3 separate regions of the Homo sapiens genome follow, and all the other regions are linked to region 1. Evidence: promoter capture Hi-C in human tissues and cell types (Jung and others, 2019). All regions are on one chromosome and are shown on one strand. Each heading gives the region's core, a stretch centred on a gene start or on the middle of the fragment in contact. The rest is flanking DNA. Distances are from core to core; before and after follow the strand shown. Region 1 holds the start of SLC6A3 (solute carrier family 6 member 3). Region 2 has its middle 57 kb from the start of LPCAT1. Region 3 has its middle 5.5 kb from the start of MIR4457.

Region 1 (4,130 bases), core at 823-3,322:
AGGGTCTCATCCTGTGGCCCATGGCGCAATCTCAGCTCACTACAACCTCCACCTCCCAGCTTCAAGCTATTCTCCCACCTCTGCCTCCCCAGTAGCTGGGACTACAGGTGTGGGCCACCATGCCTGGCTAATTTTTTTTTTCAAAGTCAGGGTTTTGCCATGTGGCCCAGGCTGGTCTCAAACTCCTGGCCTCAAGAGATCCTCCTTCCTCGGCCTCCCAGAGTGCTGGGATTACAAGCGTGAGCCCTCACTCCTGGCCTGTGTATTTTTAATATACCTGAACATCCATTCTCTCTGTGTGTTTTATTTAACAGCCTCCCTTAGTCACCTGCAAAGTCTTTTCCTTGGGAGACTGTTTCCTCAACCCTGCTGCTCTGGGGCCAAGCCCTGGCTCACTCCTTTTTATTGAAACCTGTGCCATGGAGATAATAGGGGTAGAGAGATCCCTTCTGTGGCAGCCACTGACACACTACAGCTTCGAGGTGGCACATCCCCCTCTCCTGAAGTCCCCTCACCTCCCTGGCGATGAAGTCCCACCCCTGATGGGAGGTGGTGTCAGGAGGCCTTCAGGTGGTCAGGCCAGGAGGGCTCCACCCTGAGGAATGGGACCAGTGCCCTCATAAAACAGACCCCGGAGAGCTCTCCCCAGCCCCTAGCGTGGGGAGATACAGGGAGAGAACTGTCTGCAACCCCGAAGCGGCCCTCACCAGACACAGAGTCGGCCAGGCCTTGGCCTCGGGACACCGGAACCGTTAGAACTGAAGGCTTCTGTGTGAGCCCCCAGGCTGTGGAGTTTTTTGTCATGGCAGCCCCAGGGGGTCACTAGGCTCCCACTTGATTCCAACTCAGCGTGAAGTCACAGCCCTGAGTGCCTTCTGCCTGGGTGCCAGCCCCGGAGCCGGGGAGCGGGGGAGCGGGGGGCGGGGAGGGGAGTGGTGGTGTGCGGGGAGTGCGGGGCGGGCGCAGGGGGTGGGGCACCGCGCTGCGGGCGGGTACTGCGGAGTCAGGCACCAAGGGTCCCTGCCTCCCTCACTGCTGAGCGCGGGCTGCAGGCTGGAATGGCTGGAGAGCCCCAGGGCTCGCCTGGACGCCCAGGGCAGGGTGCTCACGGGAGCATCGAGGGTACACGGGGAGGAACGCCGGGGTTCGGGCGACCCTAGGGGCGACGCACAGAGCTGGGCGCGGCCACTCACCTCGGTGCCTTCTAAGGACCTGGACATCCTGGGCCTTGGCGGCCTGGGGGCTCCATTCCTCCGCGCGCTGAATGGAAGAAATCCCGCCCGGGCATCTCGGAAGGAAAGCCTCGGAGTCCATTCGGCCCTGGAGCCGGATACCAACCGCCAGGGCTTTCCAGGCCCGTCCCGGGAAATGGTTTTCTTAGGCGAGTGCGAGGCGGGCCCCTCGGTTCCGATGCAGGCGCACTAGATGCCGGCAAGGCGGGGACTAGGCCTAGGGGACCTCGGTCGCCTCGAGGTCGCGGAGACCCCAAGGCCACGGAAGGACCCGCGTCTCCGCAGCCCGCACGCCGGGAAGCGTGCAGAGTCCTCGGCGGGGTCCCGAGCCCGCTGGTCAGAGCGTGGAGCGGCGGGGTGGGAGGGACGTGGTCCCCAGAGCGCGGGGCCACCGTAGGGGCCCCTGATGGGGAGGGAGGGAAGGGTCGGCCCGACGGGGTCCCAGCAGTTCCCCGCGCGCAGCCGCTCGGCTCCCTCCCCGTCCAGCTGGGAGCCGCCAGCCCTGGGCGTCCGAAGATAGCGGGTGCCCGGGGCAGCCCCCAGGGGTGCGGGCGAGGGCGCAGGGCGGCCCAGACAGTTCCCGCGTGGAAGGCGCCCGTCTAGATCCGCGACGTCTCGGACCCCCAGGCCCCCGCACCCCGTGTCCGAGGCTCCGGGACGCGCAGGACAGTGGAGCCGTGGCCGCCGCTTGCTCCCAGCCATCTGCGTCCGGGAGGCGGGGGCGGGGGCGCGGCCCGGGGAGGTGAGGAGGAGGAGCCAGGACGCGAGGGCGACCCCGTCGGCGGGAGGGCGGGGCGGGGCGGACCCTGTCTACTGGATAAGAGCCCGAGGCCGAGGCTGAGACCGCCCAGCGCTGCGGAGCGGGAGGGGAGGCTTCGCGGAACGCTCTCGGCGCCAGGACTCGCGTGCAAAGCCCAGGCCCGGGCGGCCAGGTGAGGCCAGCGTCGCTCGCGGCATCGGGGCGCCCCGCTCCTTCCGCAGACCCCGAAGTGGGGCGCAGGGGCGGGGGCCGGGGACCGGGCACAGTCTGGGGTCCCCGCGTCCCGCAGACCGCGCCGTCTCCAAAGTCGCCAACAGTCGCGGGTGCCGAGCGCCCCCCGATAGCGCCACATGGGACCCTGAGGCCGTCCGAGGCGCGAGGAGGGTGCAGGGCTGCCCCTGGCCCCGCTCCAGGCTCAGAACCGGGTGGGCACCTGGTGCAGTCACCGGCTTAGGGGACGCGTGGGTGTCTATGGCTGTGACTCGGGGGTCCTGGTTTCTTCTCGTGGAACTTAACCCTACTAGGGGTGCGGCGCATCCCAGATCCGATCGGAGTGGGTTTTGTACACCGCCGCTCCATCTCGCGGGGGCTTTGTCTGTGTTGGGGGTGGTGGCGGGCGCGGGCTGCGCGCTGGTGCTCTGGGCAGGGCGGGGAGGCCGGGCGAGGACTCGCCAGGCAGCGCCGCTTCTTGTTCTGGGCGCGGTGAGGAAGGACGCTTTCTAACGGGCCACATTTTGCTGTGTAGACCCAAAACTCGCCTCTGAGGCCCCGCGTTCAGGAGCGGGGTCAGGTGGCCCCAGGGCGGCGGCGGCTTGCCGGAGACTCGCGAGCTCCGCACCCGACGCCCTCTCCCAACGCGGCCTCCTGCTCGCGCCGCGGAACCCCTTCGTCGGGTGTTTTACCCACCGGAGGGGTCGTGCCGGTTGAGGTTGTCACCGGGTGCGTGGCATAGCTCGTGATAGCTCATGGGTGAGGTTTTGTGCAAACTTGGATGCAGGGAAAGTTGCCTGTTAGAGCCTCCACCTGCGACCTGCTTCAGTCGTTGTGTGTGTGTGCGCACCTGTGTGAGTGTGAGTGTGTATGTGTGTAAGTGTATGTGCTCGCCTGTGTGTGTGTGAGTGTGTATGTGTGTTTGTGAGTCTGTGTGTGTCTGTGTGTCTGTGTGTGCGTGCGCTCGACTGAAACACGCTGCTGCTGGATCCAAATGACAGAAGTCGCCCTGGCTGGGGCGGTGTAGACGCTCCTGCTCTCCTGCTCAGCGTTGCAGGGGGGTTTATGTAGCCGTTTGGACAGGATTTCCCGGGTTACCCTGCTGGCCCAGGAGCTAGTTCCCGCGATGAAGCCCTGTCCATCCTCCGCCCAGCTCTCTCACGCGGGGTGGTGCCACCTGCCCTAGGTGGATGTGGCTTGTACAGACACTTTTTGAGGAAGCAGTTGTGATGGTTATGTCTAAACTCTCTTTACAGTGGCTGATTTTGCTTATATAAATTTTGCTCTTTATTACTGAGTATAAACAATACAAGCCCAGGCTTGGTGGCTCATGCCTGTCATCTCAGCACTTTGGGAGGCTGAGGCAGGAGGATCGCTTGAGACCAGGAGTTCAAAACCAGCCTTGGCAACAATAGTCAGACCCTGTCTCTACAAAAAAACAACAACAACAACAAAAAAACACACACAAAAATAACTTAGCCGGTGCTGTGGTGCACACCTGTAGTCTCAGCTGCTCAGGAGGCTGAGGTGCAAGGATCACTTGAACCTAGGAGGTTGAGGCAGTGAGTTGTAATCACAACTGTATTCCATCCTGGGTGACAGAGCGAGACCTCATGTTAAAAAAGAAAAAAAAAAGAAAAAAGAATACAGATGAACAGTCATGAAGACATTATTGAATGCTCTTAGAAGATTGTAAAATTGCTCTCTGGAAGTGTGGGGGAAGGTGGAAGTGATATCCATGCATTGTTAGTAGAAAGCCACGCTAGAGCTCACACAGCCTTGCACTTTGATAGGAGTGGGGAGGGGTGCAGGGGAAGGAGGAGCAAACCAGAGTGTCTGTCTTGAGGCCTCCATGGGCCAGTGCCCCAGCCCTGTGGTGAGGGCTGGCACTTCCCAGCTCCCGTGCCCCAGCTGTACCATCTCAGGCG
Region 2 (4,130 bases), core at 1,160-3,659, 140 kb before region 1:
TGTCTGTTCCCCGCCACAGCCAGTAGTGCCACAGTAGATTTATGCTGCACATTAGCTGTGAGACTTCTGCCTGGGGAACCCCCACCAAAGGTCCCAGCAGGAGTCTGTGGACCCTTGCCAGCGGGGACAATAGGATTACTTTTAGGAAGGTCTAGTTTAAGTTTAAAAGGAGTACAAATACACACAGGAGTCATTGATTCAGATTACAATGGGGAAACTCAAAGTGTTATATCTACTTCTGTTCCCTGGAAAACAGAGCCAAGAGAGCATATAGCACAGCTCCTGATTGTGCCATATGTGGAAATGGGGAAAAGTGAAACTAAACGAACAGGAGGAAGTACAAATATACAAAGCAAAGCAGCTTATTGGGTGAATCAAATTACTGATAAACGTCCTACCTGTGAAATAACTATTCAGGGAAAGAAATTTAAGGTTTGGTAGATGCAGGAGCGGAGATTTCAATCATTTCTCTACAGCACTGGCCATCCGCGTGGCCAATTCAACCTGCTCAATTTAACATAGTTGGAGTTGGTAAAGCCCCTGAAGTATATCAAAGTAGTTATATTTCCATTGTGAAGGGTCCAATGGACAACCTGGGACTATTCAACCAATTATAACTTCTGTACCTATAAATTTATGGGGAAGAGATTTATTACAACAATGGGGAGCACAAGTTCTAATTCCAGAGCAATTATATAGCCCTCAAAGTCAGCATATGATGCATGAAATGGGGTATGTCCCTGGTATGGGACTAGGAAAAAATTTGCAAGGTTTGAAAGAACCACTTCAAGTGGAAAGACAGTTCCTGCCAAGGTTTAGGATATTATTCTTGATGGCAGCCATTGTTAAGCTTCCAGAACCTATACCTTTAAAATGGTTAACATATAAGCCAATTTGGATGGAACAATGGCCGCTGAGTAAAGAGAAACTGGAGGCTTTAGAGGACTTAGTTAATGAACAATTAGAAAAGGGACACATAGCTCCAACATTTTCCCCTTGGAATTCTTCAATTTTCGTAATTAAGAAAAAATCAGGTAAATGGAGAATGTTAACTGACTTAAGAGCCATTAATTCAGTTATACAACCTATGGGGACATTACAGCCAGGATTGCCTTCTCCTGCTATGATTCCAAAAAATTGGCCTTTAATAGTCATAGATTTAAAAGACTGTTTCTTTACTATCCCCTTAGCTGAGCAAGACTGTGAACGGTTTGCATTTACAATTCCTGCAGTAAACAACCTGCAGCCTGCTAAGCGTTTTCATTGGAAAGTGTTGCCACAAGGCACGTTAAACAGTCCAACGATTTGCCGGATTTGTGTAGGGCAAGCAATTGAACCTCCTCGTAAAACATTTTCACTGTGTTACATTATTCATTATATGAATGATATACTTTGTGCTGCCCCTACTCAAGAAATATTACTCCAGTGTTATGATCACTTGCAAAATTCAATTTCTGGTGCTGGTTAAATTATAGCTCCTGACAAAATTCAGATTACTACTCCTTACTCCTACTTGGGAACCTTAGTAAATGACACTACCATTGTGCCACAGAAAGTAGCCATACGTAGGGATCAATTGAAAACATTAAATGACTTTCAAAAATTACTAGGGGACATTAACTGGATACAACCTGCTCTAGGCATTCCTACCTATGCCATGAGTAATCTGTTTTCTATCCTTAGAGGAGATCCTAGTCTCACCAGCCCTCGGTAATTAACAAGAGAAGCTGAGGCAGAGCTGCAGCTAATCGAAAAGCAAGTCCATAAAGCCCAAATAAATAGAATCGATCCAGAGAAGACTCGAGCTGCAGCTGATCGAAAAGCAAGGCCATAAAGCCCAAATAAATAGAAACGATCCAGAGAAGACTCGAGCTGCAGCTGATCGAAAAGCAAGGCCATAAAGCCCAAATAAATAGAAATGATCCAGAGAAGACTCGAGCTGCATCTCATCAAAAAGCAAGGACATAAAGCCCAAATCAATAGAATCGATGCAGAGAAGACTCAAGCTGCAGCTGATCAAAAAGCAAGGCCATAAAGCCCAAATAAATAGAATCGATCCAGAGAAGACTTGAGCTGCAGCTGATCGAAAAGCAAGGCCATAAAGCCCAAATCAATAGAATCGATCCAGAGAAGACTCGAGCTGCAGCTCATTGAAAAGCAAGGCCATAAAGCTCAAATCAATAGAATCGATCCAGAGAAGACTCGAGCTGCAGCTGATCGAAAAACAAGGCCATAAAGCCCAAATAAATAGAATAGATCCAGAGAAGACTCGAGCTGCAGCTGATCAAAAAGCAAGGCCATAAAGCCCAAATAAATGGAATAGATCCAGAGAAGACTCGAGCTGCAGCTGATCGAAAAGCAAGGCCATAAAACTCAAATCAATAGAATAGATGCAGAGAAAACTCGAGCTGCAGCTGATCAAAAAGCAAGGCCATAAAGCCCAAATGAATAGAATTGATCCAGAGAAGACTCGAGCTGCAGCTGATTGAAAAGCAAGGCCATAAAGCCCAAATCAATAGAATAGATCCAGAGAAGACTCGAGATGCAGCTGATCTAAAAGCAAGTCCATAAAGCCCAAATAAATAGAATAGATCCAGAGAAGACTCTAGATTTGCTAATTTTTCCAACTCCACATTCAGCTACTGGTGTTATTGTTCAAGAGCAAGATCTTGTAGAATGGCTTTTTCTTCCACATACTAATTCATGGCCTCTAACTCCTTATTTGGATCAAATTGCTACTATGATAGGAAATGGGAGAACTCGGATTGTTAAATTACATGGATATGATCCTGAAAAAATTGTCCCTCTCACGAAGGCACAAATACAGCAAGATTTTATAAATAGTCTTACTTGGCAAACCCATTTAGCTGACTTTTTGGGTATTCTCGATAATCATTTTCCTAAAATGAAACTGTTTCAATTTTTGAAATTAACTAATTGTATTCTCCCTAAAATAACTAAACCAATTGAACGTGTGGAGAATGTTTTTACAGATGGGTCTAGTAATGGTAAAGCTTCTTACTCTGGCTCGAAAGGTAAAGTTTTCCAGACACCCTATGCTTCAGCTCAAAAAACGGAGCTTGTAGCTGTAATTGAGGTATTGACTGCTTTTAATATGCCTATTAATGTGATTTCTGATTCTTCATATGTGGTTCATTCGACACAATTAATTGAAAATGCTGAGTTACGATTTCATACAGATGAACAACTGATGACTTTATTTATGCAATTGCAAACAGCAGTTAGGAGTAGAATGCACCCTTTTTACATCACTCACATTAGGGCTCATACACCTCTTCCAGGACCTTTGACTGCAGGGAATCAAATGGCTGATCGCCTAGTTGCTACTGCAATATCTAATGCTGGACACTTTCACAATTTAACCCGTGTTAATACCTCTGGTCTCAAACGCAGATACAGCAGTACCTGGAAAGAAGCTAAAGCTATTATCCAGCGATGCCCAACTTGCCAAATGGTACATTCCTCATCTTTTACAGGAGGAGTTAATCCTCGAGGATTGGAACCTAATTCTCAAGCTCTAGCTAAATTTTTCTCTATACGGAATATTAAACACATTACTGATATCCCATATAATTCTGAAGGACAAGCCATAGTGGAAAGAATGAATCTCTCCCTGAAACAGCAGTTGCAGAAGCAAAAGGGGGAAAACAGGTACTACAGGACACCCCATAAGCAATTGAATCGCATTATTAACTTTAAATTTTTTGAGCCTGCCTAAAGGCCGGATCTTATCAGCAGCTGAACAGCATCTACAGAAACCAGCTGCAAAGACAGAAGCAGAACAACTGGTTTGGTGGAGAGACCTGATAACAGAAAGTTGGGAAATAGGTAAAATAATAACTTGGGGTAGAGGTTATGCTTATGTTTCTCCAGGACTGAACCATCAAGACACCTGAAACCTTATCATGAGCGAATGCTGAGGAAGAGATTCCGGGAGGATCCCGAGGACCCCCCCAGTTGCAGCCATGTCAAGACTGATGCTGAGGAGGACCCCAACTGTCACGAGCAACACCCGTCAAACACAGCCATCCACCTGAGGTCAGATCAAGAAGCTGTCACAGATGGCAGAAGAAAACCTGAGGTAAGTGGGACAACCAGTCAAAATGAGT
Region 3 (4,130 bases), core at 1,048-3,547, 130 kb after region 1:
TCAGATAAATCTTTTATAATTAAGGTGTTGTAAACTTCACTCGATTTGAGAGGAATGCACTGGGGCTTCAAGTTGTCATCTTTCAGTTTTATTCATTAAAATACGAAGATACCAGATGAGTTGGCACAGGAAAACAAATACGAATACACGGCCTGTACTGTGTTACTTAGTCGTGTGTTGTAAGTGGGGTCTGGAAGGGTGGCTGGGAGAGCGGGTGAACTGCCGGTTCCAGATGGGACGCACAGCACCTTAAGGGGCCTGGGGGGGCACACGGGAGGCGGCTCCAGAGGCAGGGCAGATAGTGGGGGCCCGCAGGCAAGTCAGCAGTGGGGGAAAGACAGCAGAAGGCGTGAGGGTCTTCATTGGTGTATGTGAAGGTCACGAGGTCACACGGCCCTGCCCATCACAGGTGCGTCGGTCTGCGGGGAAGTTGAGGCATCAGGGAACAGGAAGTTTTAAACGTTTACAATGGATCTTACCCACACAGGCCGTGCCTTTGCCTGCGGTGTCAGATTACTAGGGCGGGGTGCGGTGGAGGGTGTCCCTTCCACACCTGTGGTTTTATTTGTCTTTGGGGGAGGGGAGCCTTGCTTTATAAAACACAACTGGCTGTGTTCTGTAAGGCTTCACCCAGCACATCCTGTTGGCAGCAGCTAAGCACACAAACGGGAAAGGAGTATCGCCCAACTCCACCGATGAACTCAAAGTGCCTGGCTTTGCCTGGGGGATGCTGGCAAGGTTAGGTGCGGTTCCCAGCGTTTCTTCTGCCTCCTGGGGCACATCCCGCGGTGGGTCAGCGCCTGCGGCCGGCTGCTGCAGAAATAGCGTCATTCGGCCCCTGCATCAGCAGCCAAAGCCGGGCCTAACTGTCAGGAGCTCCGTGGATAGCTTTGCTGCTCTCGCTTTTCAGTTTCAGTATCAAAAATAGTTGCTACAAGAACTGATTTTTGTCATAGCACCTGCTCTTCCATTTGGGCTGGCGTGCTGAGCAAAGGTGGGTGCAGGCGCCTCATCAGCCTGACAGCAGAGTCAGCTTAACCTGAGTTTTCAGGAAGCACCGTGGCAGGCCCCCAAAAGGGGCAGATGTCCACCGTGCACTGCGTCTGCTTCTGCAGTCGGCCCTCCAGTGCCGTTTTCTTTCACCTGCAAAGGGCCTTAATGCGTGAACCAGCTGCTGGTGACTGTTAGTCTTGCTCTGTTTAAACAGTAGCAAGTTGCAGAGTGTTCCTTTGAAGACACCGCAAGTCACGTGTGTCAGTTACTCCTGAGAGGTTTCTGGGGCGCCTGCCTCTCCTTTCTTTAAGATGAGCAGAGGTTTAAAAAAAAATGAGTTTGGGGAATGAGCCTTGAAAGTCCTTCCAGCTTCAGGACCGGCACTTGCTCTGACAGTCTGACTTCTGCCCTGTGGGCCGGCGCTCCTGCAAATGGGCAGTGTTTCAAGAGAGGACTGAGCCTCATGCAGATCCATCTCATGGGAACCCTGAAGCTTCACTGACCAACAGAGGCTCCACCTGGGCGACTTGAAACATGCTTAAAGGGTTTATCTGTCATTCATCCCGATGAGTTTAGTTCTGTTTTCCTCTTGGATTTCATTGATATTTCTGCATACCATCAAAGCCCTGTCTTATGATTGATCATGAGGTGGGACTTAGAAATGCGCTAAGTACCTGTGGATTTTAGACTGTGTCAAAGCCCTCGAAGCTGAAACAGAGGACTGACAAGGTGAGGGCCCGGGGTCCCCCACGGTGGAACTGCAGTGTCCTGATCGCAGCTGGTGGGCTCCGTACCTGGGCAGGATGGGCTCTACTGGAGCAGCCAGTGTCCAGAAGGAGCTTCTGTCTCTACCCCTTGGCACTGGCCACTCATTTTATAGAAGAGATTTTCTTTAGACCAGAGTTTATTAGAAAGCCAAGGAAAATGAGAACACGTCCCCCTGTGAAGTACCTGCCACACATAGCCCTGTTGAAGCCAGTTTGGTGGCTGTTGGGTCTTTGGCAACGAGATCAGTCTGTTGGCCTCGGCCCCGGTAAGCCCCACAGGCCAGGGGTCTGGAGGAAGGATGGGGTGCAGCCTGCGATAGGTGAGGCTACGGAACCCTGACGAAGCAGGGGCTGTGTTCGAGGAGTGATCCATGCGGAGGAGGGAAACCAGGAGGAGGTCTTGGCGTATACCACACTGCTTACCCCTTTCCTGAAGCAGGCACAGGACCCAAGGGGGTGTGGCGCCCTGTGGCCCACCATGCTTTCAGAGCAGCAGCCTCTGCAGAGACACTGGTCCCAGAAAAGCCACCGCCTGAGTGTCCCCCAGCCACGGCCACCATCCCCACAGCTTTCATGCTTCAAGCAGCATATTTGTTCTCTGATGGTTCTGGAGGCCAGGAGTCCAGACCAGACCTCCCTGCGCGGCCACTGGGGTGTGGGCAGGCCCTGCCCTCCAGGGGCTCCAGGTGCTCCGTTCCTCGTGCTCTCCACCTCGAGAGCTGTGCTCCTTGCATTCCCGGGCTTGTGGCCTTCTTCGCCTCACCCTAACCTTTGCCTCCGTGGTCATATCCCTGATTCTCACCCCGACCCTCTGTGGTTACATCAGTCCCAGACGATTACCCAGCATCATCTCCCATCCAAGATCCAAGTGTGATGGTGGCCACCGAGTCCACTCTGGCACGTGGGATCACATCCGCGGTTCTGGGGCTGAACCGGGATGTCTGGGGGGACATGCCCACCTCCCCCTCATCCTGCCATTTCCCTTGTTGAACCTTCAGTGTGATGTCCCAGTGGCTTCTGTCCTGCTGGCTGGACTCAGCTGGTGCACTGAGAGGCAGACACTTTTTTTTTTTTTTTTTTTTTGAGACGGAGTCTCGTTCTGTCACCCAGGCTGGCACTGCAACCTCTGCCACCCGGGTTCAAGCGATTCTCCTGCCTCAGCCTCTCGAGTAGCTGGGGTTACAGACATCTGCCACCACGCCCGGCTCATTTTTGTATTTTTAGTAGAGATGGGGTTTCACTATGTTGCCAGGCTGGTATTGAACTCCTGACCTCACGTGATCTGCCCGCCTTGGCCTCCCAACGTGCTGGGATTACAGGCATGAGTTGCTGCACCAGGCCGGCAGGCACTTTTAAAAAACTTGTTGCTATACAATTTCCACACAGTGTCATGGCAGATGCACCCCGTGCAGCTCAACAAGCCCTGCATGCTTCCAGACTCCAGCACCAAGCACCCGAGTCAGGCTACAGACAGACCCCGGCCCCACGGGGCCCTCTCAGTGGAAACCAGGCGGGTGAACCCAGCCCATGGGTCACCGGGTCCAAGTCCCACACATGAACAGTCATGCTGGGAGCTCTGGTACCCAGGTTCTCGGGCTGGGCTCTGTCTGGCGTCCATCTGTGTTGTCGCAAGCGGTGCTCATTGTGACTTTCTTCCATGTGGCATTCCATGGCACGAACCGGGGCCGTTACGGATCAAATCATGCACGTGGCTGTGCCTGCCTTTGGGCACAGACCCAGGGGGGACATGGCTGTTGTGGTGCATGTGTGCTGAGCTCCAGTACATGTCACCCGTGTTCTAAGGGGTCTGTGCCACTCTGGCTGTGCACTGTGGCATGTGAGCCCCATGGCATCACCCCTTCTCCAGCACACAATGCTGCTGTCTAATTTTAGCCACTCTGGTGGGTGTGTAGTGGAGCCTTTTCGCGGTTTAAATGTGCATTTCCCTGCTGACTAGCGGCGTTGAAAACCCTTTGTATCCTCACCAACCCTCTGGGTGGCTTCTCTTTGTGTTTTCTGTTTCCTGTTCCCTCCAATCACACCTTGCAGAGCTGATTGTGCAGGGCTGGCTCACTGAAGCTGCCGTGGCCACGGACGGTGAGGCTGAGACCATTTCCTCCTGTCTGTTGTCTAAAATCATCCCCTAAGGCATTTGTGGATGCAACTGATGAAACCGCCTAAGTCTGCGGTTTCCTTTGTGGGATATTTTTTTCACTACTGTTTTAATTTTTGTAACTTCTGTGATAATAATACCATGCAGATTTTCTATTTCCCCTTGATGTTTTATTATATTTTGTTTAAAGAATTTGTCCGTTTGACCTAAAATGACAACTGTCTTTTTTTTTTTTTTCAAGACAAGGTCTAACTCTG

What was found. Contacts are between HindIII fragments. The study calls those that stand out against the background at their distance.
Region 2: a fragment that was not itself captured here is called in contact with the fragment with the promoter of SLC6A3 in region 1 in 3 of the 25 tissues and cell types used here (heart left ventricle, small bowel and stomach).
Region 3: a contact is called between a fragment that was not itself captured here and the fragment with the promoter of SLC6A3 in region 1, in 1 of the 25 tissues and cell types used here (lymphoblastoid cells).

What each region holds. Positions count from the first base shown.
Region 1 is chr5:1,443,382-1,447,511 of GRCh38, reverse strand. SLC6A3 (solute carrier family 6 member 3) reads left to right here and starts at 2,072. Exons shown (of 15, transcript NM_001044.5): 1 at 2,072-2,164. RefSeq lists an enhancer at 935-1,434. The HindIII fragment of the contact is 20,714 bases long and covers 1-4,130 here.
Region 2 is chr5:1,579,249-1,583,378 of GRCh38, reverse strand. It overlaps the pseudogene SDHAP3. Among named protein-coding and RNA genes, the nearest start is that of LPCAT1, 57 kb to the right of the region's middle. The HindIII fragment of the contact is 4,730 bases long and covers 45-4,130 here.
Region 3 is chr5:1,312,853-1,316,982 of GRCh38, reverse strand. No RefSeq gene overlaps it. Among named protein-coding and RNA genes, the nearest start is that of MIR4457, 5.5 kb to the right of the region's middle. RefSeq lists enhancers at 238-387, 678-1,067, 3,886-3,955. The HindIII fragment of the contact is 3,780 bases long and covers 408-4,130 here.